Linked DNA regions of Homo sapiens: region 2 is linked to region 1. The links are contacts of gene promoters, found by promoter capture Hi-C in blood cells and fetal thymus (Javierre and others, 2016). All regions are on one chromosome and are shown on one strand. The core of a region is centred on a gene start or on the middle of the fragment in contact, and the rest is flanking DNA. Distances in the headings are between cores, read along the strand shown.

Evidence for each region. Contacts are between HindIII fragments. The CHiCAGO score rates a contact against its expected background, and 5 or more counts as called.
Region 2: the fragment with the promoter of FUS here is called in contact with a fragment that was not itself captured in region 1 in 1 of 17 cell types (fetal thymus); the score reaches 11.8 in fetal thymus.

The regions. Positions count from the first base shown.
Region 1 is chr16:27,548,686-27,553,650 of GRCh38, reverse strand. It overlaps GTF3C1 (general transcription factor IIIC subunit 1), which reads left to right and starts at 3,738. Exons shown (of 37, transcript NM_001520.4): 1 at 3,738-3,981. The coding sequence starts at 3,761. KATNIP (katanin interacting protein) reads right to left here and starts at 3,507. Exons shown (of 28, transcript NM_015202.5): 1 at 3,474-3,507. The coding sequence starts at 3,480. RefSeq lists enhancers at 3,642-3,751, 3,762-3,841. The HindIII fragment of the contact is 177 bases long and covers 2,948-3,124 here.
Region 2 is chr16:31,178,132-31,183,096 of GRCh38, reverse strand. It overlaps FUS (FUS RNA binding protein), which reads right to left and starts at 2,958. Exons shown (of 15, transcript NM_004960.4): 1 at 2,870-2,958; 2 at 675-699; 3 at 433-584. The coding sequence starts at 2,882. RefSeq lists enhancers at 1,683-1,732, 1,833-1,892, 1,923-2,012, 1,438-2,198, 2,199-2,960 and 5 more and silencers at 2,243-2,292, 2,413-2,562, 3,203-3,272. The HindIII fragment of the contact is 6,651 bases long and covers 1-2,982 here.

The DNA.
Region 1 (4,965 bases), core at 1,787-4,286:
TAGAGATGGAGTCTCACTATGTTGACGAAGCTGGTCTTGAATTTCTGGGCTGAAGAGATCCTCTTGTCTTGGCCTCCCAAAGCGGTGGGACTATAGGCGTGAGCCACTGAACCCAACCATCAGGACATTCTTAAATAAAAATAATTGTTTGTTTGTTTTAAATGTGAGTACATGGCAGTAAATAAAATAATAGACAAATTTTGGTTATTCAGTCTTGGGAATTTGGCAGAAATTTTCTCAAATATGAAATAAGTGAGTCTGTCACTTCAAGGAAACAGCTGACAATATTTGCTGCCAATGTTAAAATTCAAGCTGTCAAGTGAAAACAAGTTGAAAACTTGTTTCCATTACCTTGAGTTTGATAGTTTCCTAATACTTAAACTCCTTTTTAAAATGAAATAGGTGGTGATATTAACAAATGTGATTTTTTAAATACCGTATAATGGCATCTGAAAGGTCAACGTTTAGATTTGCATAACTCACTGAACCAACATTTTCTAAACGACCAATGGCTGATGTTATAAAACCATATATGGGTAAAGCAGCCAATGAAAGGGCAAGATAGACCAATGGATTTTAATGTAACACAGTATAAAAGTTCACCTATAAGGCTTCAGATGACACACTGTGACTAACATTTAAGAAACTGCCACTTGTGGCCTGGCATGGTTCTTCATGCCTGTAATCCCAGCACTTTGGGAGGCCAAGGCGGGCGGATCACCTGAGGTTGGCAGTTTGAGACCAGCCTGACCAACATAGAGAAACCCCATCTCTACTAAAAGTACAAAATTAGCTGAGCGTGGTGGCACATGCCTGTAATCCCAGCTACTTGGGAGGCTGAGGCAGGAGAATCGCTTGAACCCGGGAGGCGGAGGTTGCGGTGAGCCGAGATCAGGCCATTGCACTCCAGCCTGGGCAACGACGGCAAAACTCCCGTCTCAAAAAAAAAAAAAAAAAAAAAAAACTGCCACTTGCAGGCCAGGCATGGTGGCTCACGTCTGTAATCCCAGCACTTTGGGAAATGGAGGCAGGCTGATCACCTGAGGTCAGGAGTTTGCGACCAGCTGGCCAACATGGGGAAACCCCATGTCTACTAAAAATAAAAAAAATTAGCTGGGCATGGTGGTTCACACCTGTGATCCCAGCTACTCGGGAGGTTGAGGCAGGAGAATCGCTTGAACCCAGCAGGCAGAGGTTGCAGTGAGCTGAGATCGTGCCACTGCACTCCAGCCTGGGCGACAGTGAGACTTTTTCTCAAAAAAAAAAAAAAAAAGAAAAAAGAAACTGGCATTTGCTAAATTTTGTATAGTATGAAAGGAGAGTGTCTACAGTTATCTGAAAAGGCAATTAAAATGTTTCTCTCTGCTCCAATTATATATTTGTATGAGGCCAAATTTTCTTCATACACACCAGCCAAAACAGCATAACAAAAAACAGTTTGAATCCTGAAGCAGAAATGAGAGTAGTTTTTTCTATTTCTATTGAATAAACTTGAAAAAACATAAAATAATGCTACTCTTCCTATTAATTTTTTGGAGGCAAATGTAATTGTTTTCCATTAAAAATATTATTTATGTTCAGAAGTAATGGGTTTATTGTTGTTGGAGTTTTTTTGAGACAGGGTCTAGCTATGTTGCCCAGGCTGGTCTTGAACTCCTGAGCTCAAGCAATCCACCCACTTCAGCCTCCCAAACTGCTGGGATCACAGGTGTGAGGCACTGCACATGGCCAATTATTATTATGATTATTATGAGCCACTGCACCTGGCCAATTATTATTATTATTATTGGGTTTTTTTGAGACAGAGTCTCGCCCTGTTGCCCAGGCTGGAGTGCAGTGGCAAGATCTCGGCTTCAAATGATTCTCCTGCCTCAGCCTTCCAAGTAGCTGGGATTACAGACATGTGTCACCACGTCCGGCTAAGTTTTAGTAGAGACAAGGTTTCACCATGTTGGCCAGGCTGGTCTCGAACTCCTGACCTCAAGTGATCCACCTGCCTTGGCCTTCCAGAGTGCTAGGATTACAGGCACGAGTCCATGCCCGGCCCAATTTTTATTATTTTTAAAGGAACTAATTAATGGACATCTTAAGATTTTCCCAGTTTAAATCTTCGATATGGTAAATATCATAAATATAAATAAACAAAGCTCTTTGAGGTAAGAGCATACAGGGGTCCCAAGGCTTAAAAGGTTTGAGGACTGATGTTCTATAGCAACATTACATTGACCTTTCCAGAAGGCAAAATGGTAAAGCACATTTTATAGTACCTCTAAAGTACAAAGGGAAAAGATATATTTTAAGCATATGACAGAATGTTCAATTAAAAACATTTTCTCCACACTACATTCAGTGAATATAAAAAGAATGTGGATTCCCCAGGAACAAATTCCCGAGAAGTGAGGGACAGTGCTGTAATTAGAAAAATGATCTGGACTCTAGCCCAGACCCTACCAGTCTCTCTAGACTTTAGTCTTCCCATCTGCAAAGTGAGATATCAGAATAGCCTATTTTCCATTTGCTTCCAATTGTCAATACCATGACTCTAATCAGGGATCCCTAAATGGGGGCCCACAAGCTGTCTCTGGCCTTCAGAGTGACTGGCCAACCCTGTTTTTGAGAAGTACCCCAAGAGGACAATCAGCTGGTGCTTGGTGAGCAGCTTTCCTTTCAGGTGAGGAATTGATTTTCAGTTACAGCCTCAATCCGGCTCACTAGACTCTCCTCTGCAGACATCTGCATTTACAACCTCTGGAATAAAGGGACCCTCAAAACCGGTCCAAATCTCAAGCTCCATAATTCAGCTCCAGAGACAGGGTGTCTGGGTTTCTCACTCACTCTGCTACATGCTGGTTGTTTGACTTTGGGCAAGTTCCTTAACACCTCTGAGCCTCAGTTTCATCATCTGTAAAATGGAACAACGCTGAACTCAAAAGGCTGGTATGAAGCTTAGCGAGGTGTTGCCCAAGAGTACTTACAGAGTTCTTGGTACTGGAAAGCACTTTGTTAAAGGGAGCTATTATTATTAACGCCAAGGCACAGAAAGGGAGTATTTCCTAAACTCCCTTCACCCCCCACACCAATTCCCTTTCCCAGCACCTGACGATTGCACTCCCACGATCAAGCTTGTTTTCATATCAACTCCCAAATCCGACAGTTCCACATCCCAACATTCACAAGACCCTCCTCAGACCTCTACTTCTCCTTCCCCACCCTACATCCCTTCACTGAGCTCCCGGCCAGTACCGGTTTCCTTCACGACCACAGCCGAGCAGAATGGTCACAGCACTGACCACTCCCCCAGGCTCTCCTCCGCGTTCCAGACCACTAAGCCTCCCTATCCCTCATTTCGGAGACCCCCTTGGGTCAGGAAGTGGTGGTCCAGGGGTTCATGGCCTAGGATTCTGCCCAAAGCGCGGTCGGGAGGGATGGGAGAATAACAGCCCGACCTCCCGGAGGGGCCCACAGACACTCACCGTCCATCCCTAGAGGCGGCGGTTCCGGGAGCTCGAACCGGAAGCGGCCTCTACACTGTTTGCAGTTCCCCTGGTTACTGCGGGGCCCCGGACCAATGACGGTGGAGCTCCACTTACTGAGCCCGCCCCCGGGGAGTGACGTCATGCCGGCGCGCTGGAACTCCTCCTCCGAACCCTGGGTCTGACCCACCTCCCCGGGCCCCGGATCGTTGTGCGCAGGCGCGATGGACCAAGGCCCTTGGCGGTGCGTTGCGCATGCGCCCCGGGCGCCGCCGACTGAAGTAGCAATGGACGCGCTGGAGTCGTTGTTGGACGAAGTCGCTCTGGAGGGGCTCGATGGCCTGTGTCTGCCAGCGCTGTGGAGCCGGCTGGAGACGCGAGTGCCGCCCTTCCCGCTGCCTTTGGAACCCTGCACGCAGGAGTTTCTCTGGCGGGCCCTCGCCACGCACCCGGGCATCAGCTTCTATGAGGAGCCTCGGGAGCGACCCGACCTACAGCTCCAGGACCGGTCAGCGGGCGGCCTGGCCTGGCGGGCGGGCGGGCGGGCGCAGGGCCCGGGGGCTGATGGAGCTGGGGGCAGGGCGGGGGAATGGAGTGGGGCTGTGCAAGTACCGGAGGCCTGTTGATTGAGTTGGGGCACGGCGGTAAGGCTAATCTGGGGTCCCTCAGGCCTGGCAGGGCCCTGGAGTCCGATGGAGTTGGCGGGGGGAGGGGGAGAATCTAGTGATGTCCCGTTTTGTCCCTGTGTGTGTTTTGGGGTAATGGCGAACAGGATTGGGGATATTCTTCAGGCTTAAAAGAATGTTTCCTTTACATTGGAGGATAGGATTAGAGCAGGAAAGACACTTTAGAGCCAGACTGGAGACTCCTGAGATCAACAGACCCTCATGGTATATTCATTCGGTGCAGATAGCCTAGGGCAACTCGAGATCTGCGTATCAGGACAATTAGCGATAATGCTAAAAGCTGACATTTATCAGGGACTTCATGGGTGAGGTGCTGTTCTTTTTTTTCTTTTTTGAGATAGAGTCTCTCTCTGTGGCCCAGGCTGGAGTGCAGTGGCGCGATCTTGGCTCACTGCAACCTCCGTCCGCCTCCCAGGTTCAAGCGATTCTCGTGCCTCAGCCTCCTGAGTAACTGGGATTACAGGCATGTTCCACCACGCCCGGCTAATTTTTGCATTTTTAGTAGGTATGGGGTGTCATCATGTTGGCCAGGCTGGTCGCGAACTCCTGACCTCAGACAATCCGCACCTCTCGGCCTCCCAAAGTGCTGTGATTACAGGCGTGAGCCACGGCGCCCGGCCACATTGCTGTTCTAAGAATCTATTCTAGAAGCTTTAGGAGCTTAAACTCACTTGATCCTCACTTGATTAAACTCCGTTAAACAGGAGATTAAATTCACTTGATCCTCACCTATGAGGTAGGTGCTGTTATCGTCCTCATTTTACAGAGGAAGACACTGAGTCACAGAGAGGGATTATGTAACCTAA
Region 2 (4,965 bases), core at 1,709-4,208, 3.6 Mb before region 1:
AGTTTTAAGACTTATACACTGTTTCACGGAAAAGAAATATGGAACAGTTTCAACATCTCAGTGCTGCTCAGGTTTAAGAAAAGCAACATTCAGGGCATTGTGGCTGACGCCTGTAATCCCAGCACTTTGGCAGGTCAAGGCAGGCAGGAGGTCAGGAGTTCCAGACCAGCCTGTCCAACACGGTGAAACCCCATCTCTACTAAAAACACAAAATTAGCCAGGCGTGGTAGCAGGTACCTGTAATCCCAGCTACTCAGGAGGCTGAGGCAGGAGAATCGTTTGAACCCGGTAGGCTGATGTTGCAGTGAGCTGAGACAGCACCACTGCACTCCAGCCTGGGCAACAGGACCAGACTCCGTCTCCAAAAAACAAGAAAAAGAAAAGCAATATTCAGAAAGAGTAGGAAGAGGTGACCCGCTGAGAAAGACTCACTGTTCTGGCTCTGGCCATAAGAAGAATAGCTGCTCTGGCCATAGCCTGAAGTGTCCGTGGACTGGCTATAACCACTGTAACTCTGCTGTCCGTAGGGCTGACTGCTCTGCTGGGAATAGCCCTGCCCGGGCTGGGTGGGGTAGGCCCCATAGCTAAATAAAAGGAAAACCAGCGTGATCAGAAAACATGGCGTGACCACCCTTGCCCTCTACAAACTCTGGAAGCCCAAAAATAGCACTCACCTTTGGGTTGCTTGTTGGGTATAATCTGCAAAAGAAAAATACAATCACATTATCTTCAGCTGCCACTCTGAAAGAGTTGAATTAAAGCTAAATTCCTTAACTCAAGCACTGATGAATAAAAAGGACCACGTAGGCCAGGCACGGTGGATCATGCCTGTAATCCCAGCAGTTTGGGAGGCCGAGGTGGGTGGATCACTTGAGGTCAGGAATTCGAGACTGGCCTGACCAACATGGTGAAGCCCCATCTCTAATAAAAATACAAAAAATTAGCCGGGCATGGTGGCGCACGCCTGTAATCCCAGCTACTCGGGAGGTGAAGCAGGAGAATCGCTTGAACCCGGGAGGCAGAGGTTGCAGTGAGCCATTGCACTCCAGCCTGGCAACAGAGCAAGACTCCATCTCAAAAAAAAAAATAAAAATAGGACCATGTTGCAACAAAGGGCATAAAATTCCTCCATGAGACACTGGTTGAGAAGAGGAACAAACTGGCGTTATCAGCCAAGTGTTCTTACAATAAAGAAAAAGTGAAGAAAATGCAAGTTTCTACAGAGTCCCAGAAGCCTTAACCATTGGAAAAACCAAGGTCTTGGTGGACATCCACAATTTTCTGCAAGCCCAATTCATGTCAGTGATTGCTCTAAAACATCGCGCATTCGTTTCATCCACTCTATGAGAAAGCCATTATCGCCAGGAGTCAAGAGACTAACTCTCCCAACGTCGCAGAACTACCAAAGTGGCACAGGTTTGAATTCGAACAGTGTTCAGATTGTGGCCTCTGCTCTCTCAGCCCAGACCCACAGAATAAGAAAGTCTCAAAAAAGGCCATTCTTCACTCTTTGACCAATCCCGGAGATGAAGTGGGCTTTTTAGTGCAAAGCCAGAGAATCAAAAGAGCCCTTGGACCCCAAATGACAGAGATCATGCAACTGCTCGCCTTAGGAGGCGAAAGTCAACAGGTACTCGAGTCCCCAGCCCTGGGACTCCAGATGGTTCCGTTTTCTCACCTACCCTGCCTTCCCCCAGCGAACAAAAAGCAACAAAAGCGCTTTTGAAAAGCCCCACTTAAGATACACGAACAAGATCAACTCATCCTCCCAGCACAGGAAACGCGGCGCTTCCCCCGCAGGAAAAGGGAAAGAGGACCAGGAGAGGGTGTGGCCTCGGGCGGCCGTTCTTCTCCGTCCCTATCTCAGAAAAAAGAAATTTAGACCAGGCGTGGTTGGCTTACGTCTGTAATCCCGACACTTCGGGAGGCCCAGGCGGGCGGATCACCTGAGGTCAGCAGTTCGAGACCAGCCTGACCAACATGGTGAAACCCCGCCCCTACTAAGAAACACAAAAATTAGCCGGGCTGTGGTGGCGGGCGCCTATAATCCCAACTACTCAGGAGGCTGAGGCAGAAGAATCACTTGAACCCAGGAGGTGGACGTTGCAGTGATCTGAGATCGCACCACTGCACTCCAGCCTGGGCGACAGAGGAAGACCGTGTCTCCAAAAAAAAAAAGAAAGAAATTTAGGCGGGAAAAACTCTCGGGCCGTCCCCAAGTCCGTTGGTCGAACCCTGACCACCGCCGCCAAACCGTTAAGCTAGAGGGCGGCCCCGATCCCGAGCCTCCGCCCCCAGCCGCGTGGCAACCCAGGCGGGAACGGAGCGATCCCGCCCATTCGCGAAGGACCACTGAGGGACAAGGCTCACACCGGACGCGCGCCGCCGAGTCTTCCGCGAAGGGTCTCGCGACAGAAAGCTGAACCAACACGAGGCGGGGAAGGGGTACCCGCGCCGCGAAGGGGGAGGGGCCCGCAGAGCGCGTGCGCGCCGCGAGTGCCCGGATGCAGCACTGCGACAAAGCGGGCTCGAGCGCGGGGCCGGGAGTTGGGGGAGGCGAGGCCACGGAGAATGGGCGTTTTCCACCCTCACCTGACGCTTCAAACCCCTAAGAAGCGTCCCTCCCAACGCCCACCCCAAGCAAACGGACTGCAAAGAAAAGACTTCCCGCCCCGCGCGCGAGGGCCAGAGGAGCGAAACAAAATGGCGACACCAGCCTCCTCCAGTTACTCTTCTCCGCGGCTTCCCGCCACAGGGGCGCCAAAAAATCCCACACGGGATCGCCGCCCCGGTCCCACTGAAAACGAAAAGCCCAGCTGGGAGGCCTCGGCCGGGTGCGCCGCCGCCGTCGCCTCGCGCCCTTACCTACCGTTTGAGGCCATGTCCGCGCACGCGCGCACAGGCAAGCAAGCAACGAAGTTCCAACACCGCTGAGTACCGACGCCTGGAGGACTGAGCAGCCCCGCCTCCTGCGTCGAAGCTTAAGTACGCTCCGCCGCCTACGCACCGCGCAGGCGCGCACCAAACGCGGAAGAGCAGGGGGAGGCAGGAACGCACTCCGCCCCCTTCGTAGGGCAGGTAGAGGGTCCGAGCAGGCAGAAGGGAAACAAGTTAACTAGAATCATGCGAATACTATACATAATCATATTTTTTGAGGAAGAACCCCTCTCTCCTCGGCAGGACTAGCCCACGATCTATCTCCACCCCCATGAAGGCACAGTGGTACGGCCTGAGTGCCCGCTGGGGGCGGGGCGAGGGGGCGGTCCCGGCGGCTGGGGACGAAACTGGAGTCACAGCCGGGAGTAGCGGGGTGGAACCGAGATTCCTGTGGCCGGGCCCCTTCGCTGGGCCCCGCTTTCACCCAGGATGGCGAGCTCCTGCCCTCCACCCTCTTGCCGCTGTATGGGGCGCCTCGTCCCCGCGGCTCCAGCCTCCCTCGTCGGCAGCACACTGGCCCTCCCTCTCCTGCGCCCTGAGGTTGACTTCGTCGTCTTTCAGGGTTGCCTTGCCTTTCGGCCTTTCTGGGGTTCGGGGATTATGACGTTTGACCTGAAAGACAGCAGGGATTTCGGCCGGGACCCCTGGGCCCCGGGCTCGTCCAGCACTGGGCTCTCACCCGGATCCTCATGGCTTTGCCCCTGGGGAGCCACGGGGCGGAACAGCCCAGGCCATCCTTGGGACCAGAGAGGGTTGACCTCAGATGTACGGTACCCAGCCTTTTCTCAGGGACCTCCTTTTTATTTTTCTGAAGCCCTACCAGGGCGATCCCAGAAATAAAACGTGTACAAGGCTTAAGTGGTTTCAAAATGCACAGATAATTTCCTTGTCATCAGTCTTACGAAGGAAGTAAAGATACCTCCGTTTTCTAGATAAGGAAAGTGAGACTCAGAGACCCAAGTAATTGTGCCTGATTACAGGGCAGCTAAGAGGAGTCGTGATTCGAATCCAGGTCTTGTAACTGCAAAACACTCCTCTTTTTGGTGGCATGAATGCTAGAGTGTTTGGTCGCCTTTTCACTTCCTGTGAGAGCAAAAGCAAAAAGAAACATTCAAATTAACTTGCAACTTGCACTTTCATCAGCCTTGCCTGGAGAAGGCAATTTGAAACTACTGAATAAAACAAGACAAAAGACGTTAATTCCTGATACATAGGCATGCAGGTTTTCCTTCCCAACTTAACCTTTCAGCGGGATTTCAGAAGGTCCTTTGAGGGTTGGACACGTCTTTCTAGAGAAACAATGAGGGCCATGCCCTGGGCCCGCCCACAAATTAAGCCCCACTAAGCCCTTGACTTCAGCCCTAAAGGCCCTGAATATGCCAATATCCACCCCACCGCCTTTGGAAGGAGAGTTCAACTCTCCAGTGAGAGCAAAAGAAAGGAAGTCCACCCTTATTCATGCATTAAGTCACAAATATTTATTTAGCACCTAGTATGTTCCAGGCACTGTTCTGGGCACTGGGTATGCATTCGTGTACAAAGCAGATGAAGTTAACATTTAATAATAAAGCTGACCGGGTGCGGTGGCTCACGCCTGTAATACCAGCACTTTGGGAGGCCGAGGCGTGTGGATCACGAGGTCAGGAGTTCGAGACCAGCCTGGCCAACATGGTGAAACCCCGTCTCTACTAAAAATACAAAAATTAGCCAGGCGTCGTCCGCGCATCTGTAATCCCAGCTACTCAGGAAGCTGAGATGGGAGAATCGCTTGAACCCAGGAGGCGGAAGTTGCAGTGAGCCAAGACGTGCCACTGCACTCCAGCCTGGGCAACAGAGCAAGACTGTCTCAAAACAAATAATAATAATAAAGCTGACATTTAATAATGATATACATTGTGCTCATCTATAATATGTAATAGCTAACACTTTAACAAGACTTACTGTCAGGCCCTGTTCTGACTGAGTAAACTCTTGATTTTATTTTTCACAACAAAAGGCTGATGTGAGGATGACATTTTATCTTTTTTT